Linked DNA regions of Homo sapiens: region 1 is linked to region 2. The links are contacts of gene promoters, found by promoter capture Hi-C in human tissues and cell types (Jung and others, 2019). All regions are on one chromosome and are shown on one strand. Each heading gives the region's core, a stretch centred on a gene start or on the middle of the fragment in contact. The rest is flanking DNA. Distances are from core to core; before and after follow the strand shown. Region 1 holds the start of FAM222A-AS1 (FAM222A antisense RNA 1). Region 2 holds the start of TRPV4 (transient receptor potential cation channel subfamily V member 4).

Region 1 (3,021 bases), core at 3-2,502, 60 kb after region 2:
AAATGAGACCCAGCCACCCAGGTCAGGGTTGGGTTCCAGTCCTTGCTCTGCCACAAACTCATTATGAGTCCTTGCAGTGTAATTGGGGAAACTGAGGTCCAGAGAGGAGAAAGGACTTACCCAGTTTCCCCAATTGCAATACAAGAGGCAGGACTCAGCATTTCCTGAAGTCTTGTTTGTTCCATGGGGTGTAAATAGGTGGAAACAAAAACTTAGGTGGTCAAAAAAGTTAGGGAAATGCTGGGTTAAAGCTAAAAGGGGGCTGGGCGTGGTGGCTCATGCCTGTAATCCCAGCACTTTGGGAGGCCTTCAAGGCAGGCAGATCACTTGAGGTCAGGAGTTTGAGACCAGCCTGGTCAACATGGCAAAACCCCATCTCTACTAAAAATACAAAAATTAGCCAGGTGTAGTGGAGCATGCCTGTAATCCCAGCTAATCAGGAGGCTGAGGCAGGAGAACCACTTGAACCTGGAAGGCAGAGGTTACAGTGAGCCGAGACTGTGCCACTGCAAAGAAGTTAAAAGGGAATCTTGCCTGCAGGATCTGTTAGCATCTTTAATATGTTAATGCGATTTGTGTATCTCCAAGAGCCGGGATAGGCATCTGTTTCTCAAACTCTTTTGACTGGGAAACCCACTTTCCAAGGTGACTTGGAAGTCAGCTGCACTAGGCAAGGATGGGAATACTCCACCTTTGTTATATGTCTTTTACCTAATGGCTCTGTGCTACCCAGGGGATTTGACCACCTGTCTCCTAAGTTAAACCTCACATGGTACATACATTAAAATATTAGCCTCATTTTATTTTATGAGACGAGGTCTTGTTCTGTTGCCCAGGCTGTAGTGCAGTGGTGCGATCATGGCTCACTGCAGCCTTGACCTCCTGGGCTCAAGTGATCCTCCCACCTCAGCCTTCTGAGTATCTGGGACTACAGGCACACACTACACCCAGCTAATCTTAAAATTGTTTGTACAGATAGGGGTCTCGTGATACTGCCCAAGCTGGTCTTGAACTCCTGGGCTCAAGTGATCCTCCAGCCTTTGCTTCCCAAAGTGCTGGGATTACAGGTATGAGCCACAGCTCCCCGTTGGAGCCTCATTTTACAGTTGGGAAATAGATGACTCAGGAGTGATCACTTGCCTGAGGTCACACACACCTGCACACAGCCTCAGGATGGAACGAGTTCTGACCCTCAGACAACTACATCCCACAGCACTCAGAGGGGTCCTCTTACAGGACGAATCTGCCCTATCATCCTGACCACACATCACCTGATGCCACCTCACTCCTCCAGGTGCCACCACTTCCTTCAACAGATCTGGAAATTGAGGCTCAGAGAGGCACACAAGTCACCCAGGGTCACACGTGGAGTCAGTGGGATACTAAGTTCCGTTTTCTTGCCTCCTCCCCTCCCCCTGCCACTCGCTGGCGAGCTGGTGATGGTGGCAATTTAAACAGAAAACCTTTCGTCCCTTGCTCTCACCTATCGCGCTGGCTGGACTCCACCTTCTCCGGCCAACGTTGGGGGTGGGACGGGGTGTGGGCCCTTTAAGAGCGCCCGGGAGGGATGGGCAGGCGCAGTGGTGCTGGGCACACGTGGAGCTGCGCGTGGAGGAGTCCAGGCTGCAGCCGAGGGAGCTGAGTAGGGCAAAGTTAGGAGTCGCTGTTTGGATGGCAAGTTCAGAAGTTGGAACTTGTCTCAGTTTCCCCGCTCCAGAAATGGGGTTGTGATATAAAGACAGGGATATGAGTGAAGAAAACACAGAGCCACCCTGGAAAGGTGAGTGTCTACTAACATAGCTTCCTCTATCCAAATCTGCGCCTGAGCCCCCGTGGCCTTCTGGGGCAGCTCTGATCTCTCTGTAAGGTCACCTGTCTCTGACCTGGGGTGATCTTCTAATGGTCACTATGACAGGAAGTGATAGCCGAGGTTTTCTGCACACCAGGCTACCGTATTGGACAGCTCCGTGGTAAAGGGTGTGAGCCCAGGACAGCTAAGTAGAGAGAGAAGGATCCTAGTGTCAGAACAGAGACCTAGAGAAGGACTGCAGCTCCTGCCCGGGGCCTGGATGAGATGGTGGCTTCTCCTCTCTTTCTCCCTCACCCACCGGGATGTCTGGGCAGTTGGGGCTCTGGGATCCAAGGCTGTGCCTGGGTTCTGGAGCCAAATTGGCCACATTTGGCGGTTGACAGTTGTTTTCTATTCTCTGCAAAGGGTTGCAGCTGGGAACTAGGACTCAGAATCAGACAGGCCTGTGTTCTATCCCAGCCACTTCTCCATTCTTCATCCTCAGCTGTGTGACTTTGGGCAAAGTGATTGCCCTTCTGTGGGTCTCACTAACCTTGTCTGTAATGTGGGTGCATGCACCTCTGTTGCGCCGAGTGGTTGTGAGGCACAAGTAACGTTTAGCCCCGAGCCTGGTATCTGGTCTGCCTGTAGTTAAGTGTGGGATCTCAGTAATTGTAGCAGTGATAGCAATGCTTTCGTCACCTGTCCTCCCCCCATCAATGTGGTAATCAAAGGTGATTGATTGTATAAAGAAACCATGCTAGAATGGCCACCGGAGGGCACTTTGAGATCAGCCAGCCCAGTTCCTAGATGGGGAAACTGAGGCCCAAGGAGGCACAGGTAGTCAGGGCTAGAGCCCCAGCTGGGTTCCTGGGCCCAGACCCAGACTGTGCCATGCGCCCCTACATTGCCACGCACACAGACCCCACCCTGTGGAGGATGAGGAGGTTTTTCCAGGATAGCAGGTGCATCCTTTGCTCTGATATCCAAATATGAGGGACCGGGCATGGAGAGTGGCTCCAGCCTCTCCCGTTTCCCCTCTCCTGATGCCCCAGTGTGGGTACGCCTGGCAGTTGACCAAGGACATGGGGACCTGGGTGACCAAGTTGGTGCTTGGGTGGCCCCAGTGGTGACACCTGGGAACAGCTGAGACATAGGCCACCTCCCAGTGTAACACCTGGCCCTAGACCTTGGTTTCCTGCCCCACTCCCTCCCCGAGTGCTCACACTGTG
Region 2 (3,173 bases), core at 674-3,173:
TCCCCACCCAGCAATTCTAAAATTTCACTTTCCAGCTGTTGGACCTCAGGAGAGATGCTGCTATTTTCAAGCTGAGGAGGAAGGAGCTACCCCACAGTCCCTGAGTCAGCTCAATTTAGTGAAAACACTAATGATGAAAATGGCATGGCTCTGGGCCGGGCACGGCGGCTCACACCTGTAATCCCAGCACTTTGGGAGGCCAAAGTGGGTGGATCAACTGAGGTCAGGGGTTCAAGACCAGCCTGGCCAACATGGTGAAACCCTGTCTCTACTAAAAATACAAAAAATTAGCCTGGCGTGGTGGCGCATGCCTGTAATCCCAGCCCCCAGGAGGCTGAGGCAGGAGAATCGCTTGAACTCAGGAGGCAGAGGTTGCAGTGAGCTGAGATCACACCCCTGAACTCCAGCCTGGGCGACAGAGTAAGACTCTGTCTCAAAAAAAAAAAAAAAAGGGCTCTGCACAGCCTGGATGCTCCCAGCATCTTCACTGCGACTGTGAGGTGAGGACTTTTGTATGCCCCACTCTACAGGGGGATGTAGAGGCACTGAGGCACAAAGGTGAAGGGACTTGCATAGGGCTGCTGGGTTAGAGAGTCACAGAGCCAAGCTGTGGGCCTGCTAGGCTTTCCAACCACCCTGGAGGAAGTGAGCTGCCCATCCTGTGGAGGTATTCAAGTGGACTCAGTGCTGGGTAGAGGGTATGGCTATGTGTTGGGGCCCACCTTTGTTATCTGATAAAAGAAAATACATGGGTAGGTGTGGTGGCTCATGCCTATACTCTCAGTGCTTTGGGAGACTGAAGTGGGAGGATCACTTGAGGCCAGGAGTTGTAGACCGGCTGCCCTCCCCCACCCCCCCTTCTACAAAAAAATAAAAATTAGTGGGGTGTGGTGGCGCATGCCTGTACTCCCAGCTGCTCAGGAGGCTGAGGTGGGAGGATCTCTTGAGGCCAGGAGTTTGAGGCTGTAGTGAGCCGTGATCATGCCACTGCACTTCAACCTGGGTGACAAAGGGAGAACATGTATCAAAAATAATAATAATAATAAAAAAAATAAACAAAAACGCATTGAGCCAGGCACGGTGACTCAGACCTCTAATCCCAGCACTTTGGGAGGCCGAGGTGGGTAGATCGCTTGAGCCTGGAGTTTGAGACCAGCCTAGGCAACATAGTGAGACCCTATCTCTGCAAAAAATTTAAATAAAATTAGCCAAGCATGGTGGTAGGCGTCTGTGGTCTCAGTTACTAGGGAGGCTGATACGGGAGGATTGCTTGAACGCTGGTGGTTGAGGCTGCAGTGATTCCTGATCACGCCACCGCACTCCAGCCTGGGCAACAGAGTGAGACCCTGTCTCAAAAACAACAGCAACAAAACATTGATGGCCTACTCCGAGGCAGGCTTCGCAGTAAGCACTGGGTGAAGACCAAGGAGAGCAGCTCACATTTATTTACCCCTGAACCATCTCTATGGGCCATACCCGAGGGTAGGGACCTCCTTCAACGCCTCGGAGGAAATTGTCTGCTGAATGAATGAATGAGCAAACACGTGGAGGACTGGGCCGGGACGCCCATTTAGAGACTAGGACACAGTCCCAGGGCGGCCCGAAGTCACGGAGCAAGATCGAATCGGAGCCGATTCCAACTAGAGCCCTCTCCAAAGACCGTCTGCCGCTCTATCCGGGGATCGCGACACCCATTTTCCAGGCGAGGAAACTGAGGCCCTGGCCCTGCACCTCCCCCGCAGGGGAGGCCCTCGCTGGGCGGGCGGGGTGCGAGTAGGGGCCGCCCCTTCTAGGGCCTGCGCTCGGCGGGGTCCGCGAGCCGGCGGGTGGGCGGGGAGCTGGCCGGGGGCGGCGCGCGGCTGGAACCTGAGCCGGCGGAGGAGGGACCCGCGGGCGGACGGGCGCCGGGCGGGCCGGCCGGGATTCAGGAAGCGCGGATCTCCCGGCCGCCGGCGCCCAGCCGTCCCGGAGGTAAGTGGGGCCCGGGCCCGGGAGGGGCGGCTCAGCCGAGGTCCCCTCGCGCCCCTGGGGACATCTCCGTGGCCCGTCCGGCTCCGGGGGGTCCCGAGGCTCCAAAATGCGGGCCAGGGGCGCGGGAGACGGAAGGCACCAGGTTCCGCAGGCGCCAGCCTCTCAGCTAAGTGCCCTTGGGCCGGACACCGGCTCTTTGGGTCTCGGTTTTATCACCTGTGAAATGGGCACCAACGTGGGGCCTGGGGTAGCAGGTCTGGGGGGAGGGCGGTTCGGTTCCCTGAGACCCCAAGCCAGGGAACCAAAGGCCCGGAGCCTTGCAGCCCACCTTAGGAGACTTGGAAGAGGGATTTCGGGGGACCTAAGGTTTGCCCTTGGCCCCTGAGCATGTCGGAGGGAATTTGGAGTCTGGAGCTTCCAAAGGCTTCTTCTTGGTTACTGAGTCCCGGAGAGACGGCTGTTTCCTCCAAGAGGCATGAAAATCTTTAACCTCTAGTTCTGCCCTGGACTCTCAGGACGTCCCGGGGGCGGGTGGCTCCTGGGGGTGGGTAGCGGGGGTGGGGGTGGGGGAGAGAGAGACTCCCACACTCCCCGCTTGCCTGGAAACACCAACCACAGATGCATTCATCGAGCCACCCACTGCTCCAGCCTGCCCCAGCTGTTCCCTCTGTCTGTCCTCTCTGTTTTGCAGATGGGGAAACTGAGGCTTAGGTCGGGGATCTAGACAATTGGGATTTAAACCCAGGGACTATCCAGCCCCAAAGCCCTTCCCACCACACCAGGTGGCCTGTCCTGGGGCCAGCTCTGCACACAGGGCCTGGTGCCCCCGGGGTGCTTGGGAAGTGGCAGGGCAGAGGTGGGCCCTGTGGCTGTTCTGGCTCAGCTTCTAAAACAAGAGCCTCTGCTGGGGGCAGAGGGGCCGTGAACCCCTGAAATGTTAGGCAGATACCCTGTGGGAGCTTTGTTCTGGGATGCTAAGAACCGCTTGAGGATTTAAGCTTTGCCACTTTGGCTCCGGAGCAAGGGCAGAGGGTAAGTCGGGACTCCCCGGGCTCCTGAGGAGGGTGACGAGGTGGGCTTTTGGGGGAACAAGGGTAGAAAGGTCAGGCCTGGGTTATCTGCGGGGCTAAGAGCGGGCCTGTGTGGGGCCCGGGGTGTGCTCTGCAGTCCCCTGCTGTGTGACCTTGGCCTGGTCCCTTAGC

Evidence for each region. The method cuts DNA at HindIII sites, captures the fragments that hold promoters and counts their contacts. A contact is called where the count stands out against the background at its distance.
Region 1: a fragment that was not itself captured here is called in contact with the fragment with the promoter of TRPV4 in region 2 in 1 of the 25 tissues and cell types used here (pancreas).

Annotation. Positions count from the first base shown.
Region 1 is chr12:109,772,056-109,775,076 of GRCh38, reverse strand. FAM222A-AS1 (FAM222A antisense RNA 1) reads left to right here and starts at 1,590. Exons shown (of 3, transcript NR_026662.2): 1 at 1,590-1,780. RefSeq lists an enhancer at 2,502-3,001. The HindIII fragment of the contact is 4,400 bases long and covers 1-3,021 here.
Region 2 is chr12:109,832,148-109,835,320 of GRCh38, reverse strand. TRPV4 (transient receptor potential cation channel subfamily V member 4) reads left to right here and starts at 1,923. Exons shown (of 16, transcript NM_021625.5): 1 at 1,923-1,971. MIR4497 (microRNA 4497) reads right to left here and starts at 1,973; the gene lies at 1,885-1,973. The HindIII fragment of the contact is 21,611 bases long and covers 1-3,173 here.